Regions from separate parts of the Homo sapiens genome. Here regions 2 and 3 are each linked to region 1. Evidence: promoter capture Hi-C in 16 types of primary human blood cells and fetal thymus (Javierre and others, 2016). All regions are on one chromosome and are shown on one strand. The core of a region is centred on a gene start or on the middle of the fragment in contact, and the rest is flanking DNA. Distances in the headings are between cores, read along the strand shown.

Evidence for each region. Contacts are between HindIII fragments. The CHiCAGO score rates a contact against its expected background, and 5 or more counts as called.
Region 2: a fragment that was not itself captured here is called in contact with the fragment with the promoter of TXNDC2 in region 1 in 1 of 17 cell types (erythroblasts); the score reaches 8.5 in erythroblasts.
Region 3: a fragment that was not itself captured here is called in contact with the fragment with the promoter of TXNDC2 in region 1 in 1 of 17 cell types (erythroblasts); the score reaches 5.5 in erythroblasts.

Annotation. Positions count from the first base shown.
Region 1 is chr18:9,884,496-9,887,492 of GRCh38, forward strand. It overlaps TXNDC2 (thioredoxin domain containing 2), which reads left to right and starts at 1,478. Exons shown (of 2, transcript NM_032243.6): 1 at 1,478-1,585; 2 at 2,094-2,997. The coding sequence starts at 2,186. The HindIII fragment of the contact is 12,861 bases long and covers 1-2,997 here.
Region 2 is chr18:9,680,683-9,683,679 of GRCh38, forward strand. LOC124904244 (a long non-coding RNA gene) reads right to left here. Exons shown (of 2, transcript XR_007066281.1): 2 at 2,781-2,997. Among named protein-coding and RNA genes, the nearest start is that of RAB31, 26 kb to the right of the region's middle. The HindIII fragment of the contact is 1,740 bases long and covers 645-2,384 here.
Region 3 is chr18:9,710,858-9,713,854 of GRCh38, forward strand. All of the region lies in intron 1 of RAB31 (RAB31, member RAS oncogene family), which reads left to right. The region is part of intron 1 of LOC105371981 (a long non-coding RNA gene); the gene reads left to right. Among named protein-coding and RNA genes, the nearest start is that of RAB31, 4.1 kb to the left of the region's middle. The HindIII fragment of the contact is 369 bases long and covers 1,278-1,646 here.

The sequences.
Region 1 (2,997 bases), core at 228-2,727:
CAAGAACTACGGATTTGCTGGGCCAGGCATGGTGGCTCACGCCTGTAATCCCAGCAATTTGGGAGGCTGAGGCAGGTGGATCGTTTGAGGTCAGGAGTTAGAGACCAGCCTTGCTAACATGGTGAAACCCTGTCTCGACTAAAAAAAATACAAAAATTAGCCGGGTGTGGTGGTGAATGCCTGTAATCCCAGCTACTCGAGAGGGTGAGGCAAGAGAATTGCTTGAACCTGGGAGATAGAGGTTGCAGTGAGTCGAGATTGTGCCACTGCACTCCAGCCTCGGTGACAGGGCAAGACTGTCTCAAAGAAAAAAAAAAAAGGAACTATGGATTTGCTAAGGCCAATAGTCTCTCTACCCCTTAGTAAAATGTGTTTTGGTATAAAAATCCAGATAATTGAACCATTGCCATTAGATGTTTCGAGGTTTCTATTGACAATGTGGAGGTCTTATCATTTAGATTTCAACACTTTTATTTTTAGTTTTTAGAGACGGGGCCTTGCTCTGTTGCCCAGGCTAGAGTACGATGTAGTGATCACGGCTCACTGCAGTCTTGAACTCACTGGCTCAAGCAAGCCTCCCACCTCAGCTTCCCAAGTAGCTGGGACAGGCGTGTGCCACTGTGCCTGGCTAGGTTTTGTATTTTTTGTAGAGATGGGGTCTTGCTATGTTGCCTAGGCTGATCTCAAACTCCTGGGCTCAAGAAATCCTCCCACCTTGGCCTCCCAAAGTACTGAGATCACGGTGTGAGCCACCATGCCTGACCACTTTCAACACTTATATTGTTGGGGTGAAACTGAAACATATGAGGATTTGTTCAAAGTACATGTAGAGAAGGCAAAATTCCACACTGATTCTTCCTGCCTTGGACTGGATGTGTTGTGCAGAGTGAGGGTGGAAAATGAGCCAGTGGTCCTGAACTAATAAAATAAGTCTCCCTGGGGGACAGGTATTTGGCTTCCCATTCCACAGGATGGGGTAGATGTGGCTTATGGAACCAGGATTATTCACAAAGAGGTTGTTCTCCTGTATGTAAAGGCTGGAAGAGCCGTGTACTTGGATGTGTCTGCATGGGGGAGGGCACAGGCTGGGCTGGTGCGCCTGGGAGGTGGGGGAGGTGGGGAAAGAGGCTGTCTAGCAGGAGCTGAACATTTGACATTGTGGGACACTTTGCAGAGGAGGCTAACATGGTTTCGAGGAGATACTTAGGAGCTGGTCACAATGGGTGAGTCGTAAAGAGAATGTTGGAGCTGGGGGATCCTGGAGAAAGATGATAAGATGGTTGATTCACAGAACCCAGGCTGGACGGGACTTGTGGCGAGCAGTCCAGCACAGCCTCACAGTGCAGAGCATGAGCTTTGGAGCCTGCCCCCACCCTAGCTTTGTGACCTTAAGTGAGCTACATAGCTTCTCATGTGTAAACTACTCATCATAATGGTTCTGACCTCAGTGGTTTGTTGTGTTCTAGGAAATGATGCCAGTGAATGCGTAGTCCCAGCCTCAGCACAGGGGAGCCACCTTGAAGCTCTCAAATATCACTGTTGTGAATACAGAGAGGGAAAACCAACTGTAACGTGCCACCCAAATGTAAGTTTTACTCATATTTTGATGTTAGGATGGATAGCTTGGAAAAAGTTGGAGGGTACGGCCTTTACTATGAGGCATCTATGAAGGATCAGGAATGGATGTAGACAAGGAACTAGGAATGGAAAGTGTTAAAGCTGGAGCCTCTGGAAAACCAGAAATGAGGCTGGGCACTCAGGAAGAAACAAGTGAAGGTGATGCTAATGGTAAGTAGGGGAGGAAAGAGGGTTGCCTTAAAGACCTATGCAGTTAGGGAGCGGGCAGGGTGTTGAACCAAGAAGGGAAAGTTGTAGCTTAAGAACATGTATACAGAAGATACGTGTAACCACACGCTGTTTGTCCTTCTGCTGAATGAGTTTTTCAGATTAATACATCATTCATCAGACTTCATTCGTGATCTCGAAGAGTGACATCAGTCTTCCTTGGAATATGAAGAGAATTTCTTTGGTTCTTCTTTTGCATTTCTATTTGATTTATTTTATTTTATTTTATTTTATGTTTTTTGGTACAGAAAGCTCATTACTAGTCCTGTCCAGCAACGTGCCTCTCCTGGCCCTAGAGTTCTTGGAAATAGCCCAGGCCAAAGAGAAGGCCTTTCTCCCCATGGTCAGCCACACGTTCCACATGCGCACAGAGGAGTCTGATGCCTCACAGGAGGGCGATGACCTACCCAAGTCCTCAGCAAACACCAGCCATCCCAAGCAGGATGACAGCCCCAAGTCCTCAGAAGAAACCATCCAGCCCAAGGAGGGTGACATCCCCAAGGCCCCAGAAGAAACCATCCAATCCAAGAAGGAGGACCTCCCCAAGTCCTCAGAAAAAGCCATCCAGCCCAAAGAGAGTAACATCCCCAAGTCCTCAGCAAAACCCATCCAGCCCAAGCTGGGCAATATTCCCAAGGCCTCAGTGAAGCCCAGCCAGCCCAAGGAGGGTGACATCCCCAAGGCCCCAGAAGAAACCATCCAATCCAAGAAGGAGGACCTCCCCAAGTCCTCAGAAGAAGCCATCCAGCCCAAAGAGGGTGACATCCCCAAGTCCTCAGCAAAACCCATCCAGCCCAAGCTGGGCAATATTGCCAAGACCTCAGTGAAGCCCAGCCAGCCCAAGGAGAGTGATATCCCCAAGTCCCCAGAAGAAACCATCCAGCCCAAGGAGGGTGACATCCCCAAGTCCTCAGCAAAGCCCATCCAGCCCAAGCTGGGCAATATTCCCAAGGCCTCAGTGAAGCCCAGCCAGCCCAAGGAGGGTGACATCTCCAAGTCCCCAGAAGAAGCCATCCAGCCCAAGGAGGGTGACCTCCCCAAGTCCCTAGAGGAAGCCATCCAGCCCAAGGAGGGTGACATCCCCAAGTCCCCAGAAGAAGCCATCCAGCCCAAGGAGGGTGACATCCCCAAGTCCCTAGAGGAAGCCATCCA
Region 2 (2,997 bases), core at 265-2,764, 200 kb before region 1:
GTGTGTGTGTGTGTGTGTGTGTGTGTGTGTGTCTATCCCTATGCCAATGCCACACTGTCTTAATTGTATCATTGTAGTAAGTTTTAAAATAAGGAAGTGAAATTCCTCCAAATTTGTTCTTTTATTCAAGATTGTTTTGGTTACTCTGGGGTACTTTAAATTTCCATATGAATTTTATCACCTTGTCAATTTCTGCAAAGAAGCCAGCTAGGATTTTAATAGAGATTATGTTGAATCTATAGATCAATTTTAAAATATATATTCTATCTTTTTATTTACTTTATATGAGGAGACACTGTCGTATCTTCCTTTATTTCTTTAATCATGGTTTTCTTTAGTTTTTAAAATATATTTATAATGGCTGCTTTGAAATCAGTTAAATCTGACACCTGTACCTTCTCAAAGATAATTTCTGTTGTCTTCCTTTTTTTTTTCTTGTGTATGATTTATACTTTACTGATTGTTGTTGTTTGGCAAGAGTTACAATTTTTATTAAAAAAACAGACTTTTAGATATTGTAGCAATTTTGCATACCGATTTTTCCCTTCCCTTCTTCCCTCCTAGGCTTGTTGCTATTTGCTTATTTATTTATTTAGTAAGTTGGCTGTACTATTTTAGTGAAGTCTATTTCCCTCATAGTATAAAGCTTCTGATGTCATTCTTCAGAGGACACAGACTTGGTCACATGCACAGTCACCCTGGGATGACAGTAGTTTAGTAGGGCACTTTCAACTATCTTTTTCCTTAATCTTTCTGTTAAGCTGTCTGCCTTTGTTTGAGTCACAACCAGCTCTTAGGCTGTACTAATTACCAATCAAATTCTTTATTGTGTTCAATAGTACCCTATGGATTAATTGCTCCACTGGTTGATCCTGTTAAATTCAGACACATTTGCAGGGATAGTTTTTGAAGCCAGTCTTTGAGGTTTGTTCTGATTCTAGGAGGGTTCTTCTTAGCTATCTCTTTTTTCAGTCCTCTCTGGTAAACTGGCTGGTCTATAATTTAGCTTGCTGCTCTCATGGAGCTACTGCTTCCTCTTAATTGCTTATCACCAAACTCTCCATTGTTTTTGAGAGTGGTCTTAGGCTTGAACTCCCTGACACTGTGCTCCAAATAAAGTCAGTTTCTTTGGGGAGAGTTTCAGAGTTCTCTGTCCTTACGGCCTGACTCTACCACTAGGAAAAATCTCTGAGTACCTGCTTCAGACCTAAGGGTAGGGACAGTGGGTCACTTTTCTTGGAGTAGCATCGTTGCTTTATGAGTGGGTTGGTGGATATGGGTGGTAGTCTCTGGTCTTCTCACCTTCTCTCTCCCAACTTAAAACCACTACCCTGTGAGCAAATGAGGGCCAGGACATGGGCCCAATATCAGATTGCCATGACTATGGTAGCACTACCTTCCTATGAGTGAAGAAGTGATGAAAGAAGAGAGCCTCTGACTTTTTGGGTGGATTAACCTATAATTTAGCCTCTGTAACAAAGAACATGGAGAAAGAGGATGAGAGATGCTGGCAAACTTTCTCTCCCAGAAAGATACCCTAGCCCTTGACTGGGAGCTTTGAGGAAAAGGAGTCTCATCTTTTTGGCCATGCCTACCTAGGGCCAGGCTTCCATCATGCTGGGCTGATGGGAAGGGAGGGAACAGGTTATGCCCAAGTGCCACAGAGTCTTGCTGTCTGTAGTGAGATTAGGTAGATTTTCTTGAATGTTTGTTTGTTTGCTGTATGACTTAGGACAAGTTTCAGAGACTTTCAGTGGTCATTGTTTCATAATTTTCACCAGTTTTGGTTGTTTTGTCAGGGGATGAATCCAAGGAGTGGTGGCCTCGTATCATCATTCTGGGTGTCATCTGACTGTTCATTTTTATGTACTTACTTATTTGAGACAGGGTCTCACTCTGTGACTTAGGCTGGAGTGCAGTGGCAATCATAGCTCACTGCAGCCTCAAATACCTGGGCTTAAGCTATCATCTCACCTCAGCATCCTAAGTAGCTGGAACTATAGGCACATGCCACCATGCCTGGATTAAAAAAAAATTTTTGTGGGTGGAAATGGGATCTTGCTATGTTGCCCAGGCTGGTTTCAAGTTCCTGGCCTCTAGTGGTCCTCCCACCTCAGCCTCCCAAAGTGCTGGGATTATAGGCAGGAGCCACTGTGCCCAGTCTGTTCATATTTTAAAATTCTCTTGTTCCTCTGGGTTTCATTATTGGTAATTCCTATTTTTATGTCTTCAAGTTCAGTAATCTTTTCTTACGTAATGTCTAGCTAGTCTTTATTTTATTTTTTAAATTTGTTTTTATAGGCAGGACCAACCAGGTAATTAATCTGCCTTTAATTCTAGCCAGTGAATTTTTCATATTGAACATTGCAGTTTTCATCTATAGAAGCTTGCTTTGAGTCTTTTTGATATTTTCCTTGTCTCTACTTACCTTTTGAACATATGTAATACAGTTTAGTGCCTTGTCTTCTAATTCTAACATCTGTGTCAGTTAAGGATCAAATTTAATTTGTTTTTCTCATTATAGGTTGTATTCTCAGGGATCTTTGCTTGACTGGTAATTTTTGATTGGATGCCAGACTTTATGAATTTTACTTAGTAGGGTGATGGACATTTTTATGTTTATATAAATATTTGTTCTAGAACACAATTATGTCACTTGTAAACAATTTGATATTTTCAGGTCTTTCTTTTTGAATTAGTTCGGCAGGACTGATTAGCATTTAGTCTAATTATTCCCTTGTACTATGTACCATCCCGTTAAAAGGAAAACTTTAGGCAAATTAAATTGAGCAGAGTTTAATTGAGCAAAGAATGATTCATGAATTGGGCATCCCCCAGAACCAGCAGCGCAACTCCAGGGCCACCATGTGGCCGGATAACATTTATGGACAGTAAAAGGGCAGTGACTTACAGAAAATGGAGGTGAAGCACAGAAACAGCTGGCTGGCGACAGTTTGGCACTTAGTTAAACATGGTTTCAACAGTTGGCTGCCTTTG
Region 3 (2,997 bases), core at 212-2,711, 170 kb before region 1:
AAAGAAAAGAAAACAAAAGAAAAGAAACATCAGTCATATCACACCACATTTGTGGCTTCCTTTTTTTTTTTTTGAGGGTGGCTGTAAGTTTCAGTTTTATTGAAATCAGAGGACATTTTATTTGAAAGACCAAATGACCTTGTTGTCCACACTGAGTAAGATTTGCCACATCCCCTCGTTTGGCTGGCTCTTTCCTGGGTGAGATGTGTGCAGCAGGCTGTGTTTCTAGCTGCTCATCCAATTAGGCTGATTCTCTGGGTGGGATAACATTGAGGGAGATCAAAACCATTTGACTGTCTTCGGTTTACTCTCTTCTCTCTCTCTCTCTCTCCTCTTTTTTGTTTTGAGACAAGGTCACATTCTGTCATCCAGGCTGGAGTGCAGTGGTGCCATCATAGCTCACTGCACCCTCCAACTCCTGGGCTCAGTGGATCCTTCTGCATCAGCCTAGGTTTATTCTCTTGATTCGAGAGACCCTGTGGATCAGTCAGTGCTAAGTCCAAAAGTCCTTTAAAAAATATATGTATATTTTTGAGATAGGGTCTCACTCTGTCACCCAGGCTGGAGTGCAATGGTGCCATCCTGGCTCACTGCAGCCTCAGCCTCCCAAGCTCAGGTGATCCTCCCACCTCAGCCTGCCAAGTAGCTGGGACCACAGGTGTGTACCACCCAGCCCAGCTAATACTTTTTATTATTTTTGTAGAGATGGGGTCTCCCTATGTTGCCCAGGCTCTTTCAACATTTTAACAGGAACCTTGGGCTCATTTGTGCTTTGCGTAGGGAGGTCTGTCTTTTCTGGGTGAAGTTTTGTGTGTGGCTGGCATTCAGCTTCCTGTTTTTTAGCCATGAGACACCTCCCTGAAGTCTTGCTATGACCAAGACCCTGACAGCCACACCTTCTTTCTGCCTGTTAGAATCACTTTCTGTCGGGTTTCCCTTATAAGGTGATAGAGAACATAGACTTCATAACAAAATATCACTCTCACTGGGAAGGCTGAGGGGTTGGTCTTTTTGTGCCTGGTACTGTGCTCAGTGGGGACTTGGGGACATGCTTCGCATTTAAGGTATAGGTTGTTTTAGGCATGGGCAGTAGGCGCTTTCAGCACAGGCTCCCTGCTGGTCACTCTTTGCTGTAGTTTCCTGCTCCATCCATGGGGTCGGAGGTCTTACCTCCTGACGTTAGAGTCATTTGCAGCAGGTGGGAGTGAAAGTGGGCCGGGTGCCAGGTCTTCTTTACCTGAACCTCTCCTGTCTTCCTGGCACATTAGGAATGTCCAAGCTTATTTCTATTGGTGAATGCTCCCACATGGGATGGATAATGGCCTGTGGAACATTCTCTGAATGCTTTGTGTTCTTGGAAAACCAAGGACTGAAGAGCGTTGGGTTTGTTTAGGTTACCTGTTATAAATTCTTGGCTCACATTTCATGTGTGGACTTTCTTGGGTTTATTCCACATGGGGACAGCCCAGCAAGCCTTTGTGAACGCCCTTTCCTGGCCTGAGCCGAGTCACCTGTGGAAGTCAGCCGTGCAGGAGGGTGTGCTTGATAGGGGGAAGCACCCTGGGCAGGACCCCATGAGTTTCCTTCTTACCAGGAAAGTGTCATTCGTCCCACTTTGTGATCTGAACTGGTATTATGAAACATGAAGCTTAAAGGCAACAAAGTATGTTAACAACAACAACAAAAAATACTTAACAAAAACAACACTGAGGCAGCAGCTGCTTCAACCCCAAAGGTGGAAAAGTTTCCCAGTATGCATTTTTAACACACATCACCATGTGGCAAGAAGCAGGAGGAAGGGAGAGAGTGGGGAGGAGGAGAAAGAGAAGGAGGGGACCTTTGTTTTGTTATCTCCTTGGGGTATTTGTGTGCGTGCACTTAAAAACTGCGTGCACTTAAAAACTGCTTCCTGATGGAATCCCAAAGAGATTTATATTTGGACTTTGGTTGTCTTGACAACAATTTAGAAATTCCTACCACTTCCTCAATAGCTGAGTGATCAGTTAAAAGAGCCGATGGCTTCCCTGCTTCTGGTAAGGAGCTTGTTGAAGCATCTTGTGATCTTTGTTGGAATGTATATGGTGGCTCATTAAAGAGCAGTCAAATACCTGGGATTTGGTGAGACATCTGGGTAATGGGTACTTCACCTATGTCCAGGGCCTTCGCATGGAAGGCCTCTTGTCTCCCCAGGGACACTAGGACGCAAGAGTAGAACAGATTTATACTCACAGTAAGGCAGATCATCAGAACTGTGCAACCTCACATGAGTTGCTATGAGCACTGTATGACAGAGTATCCAATAAGGTGATAAGAATTTGTTAGTGTTATTGTGGAAGGAAGTAATGCATAGGATAGTGGGTTGGGCTAGGTAATGATCACATTTGCTTTCCAAGTCTGAGATTCTAGTAACTTACTATTTTTTCTCCCGAGACTGGCATTTCTTGGGGAAGGGGGATGGTGGGGAGGGTTGAGTGGCTAGCCACAGCATTTATTTCTTGGCACAACTGATTCCTCTACTAAATTGAACCATTTGTGGAAAGTATGTTCAGCATTGGTGACTCTGGGTACGTTCTATGTTACACGAGAATAAATATGATATAGTGGGCTATCTTCCCAGCAGTGCCTGGCATATGGTAACACTGTGTCTTATGCACCCATCCCAGGCTGATGGAATCCATCAGGGTCCCTTTGTTCCTCCTTTGTTCAGGGTCAGCATTGCTGCTTTCATCCTCCCTCAGCTTTCAGAGCTCAGTGCATCTCTGGAGTGTGTATCAGAATCATTTGAGGAGCATTTTCAAGCTTCTCATGGTCCCTTCCCCCATCCCTTATGTCTTAATTTGAGCTGCTGTCACAAAAATACCATAGGCTGGAGGGCTTAAACAATAGACATTTAATTCTCACAGTTCTGGAGGTTGGGAAGTCTAAGACCAAGGCGCTGGCAGATCTAGTGCCTGGTGAGGGCTCGATTTCTGGTTTGCAGACAGCTGCCTTCTTGCT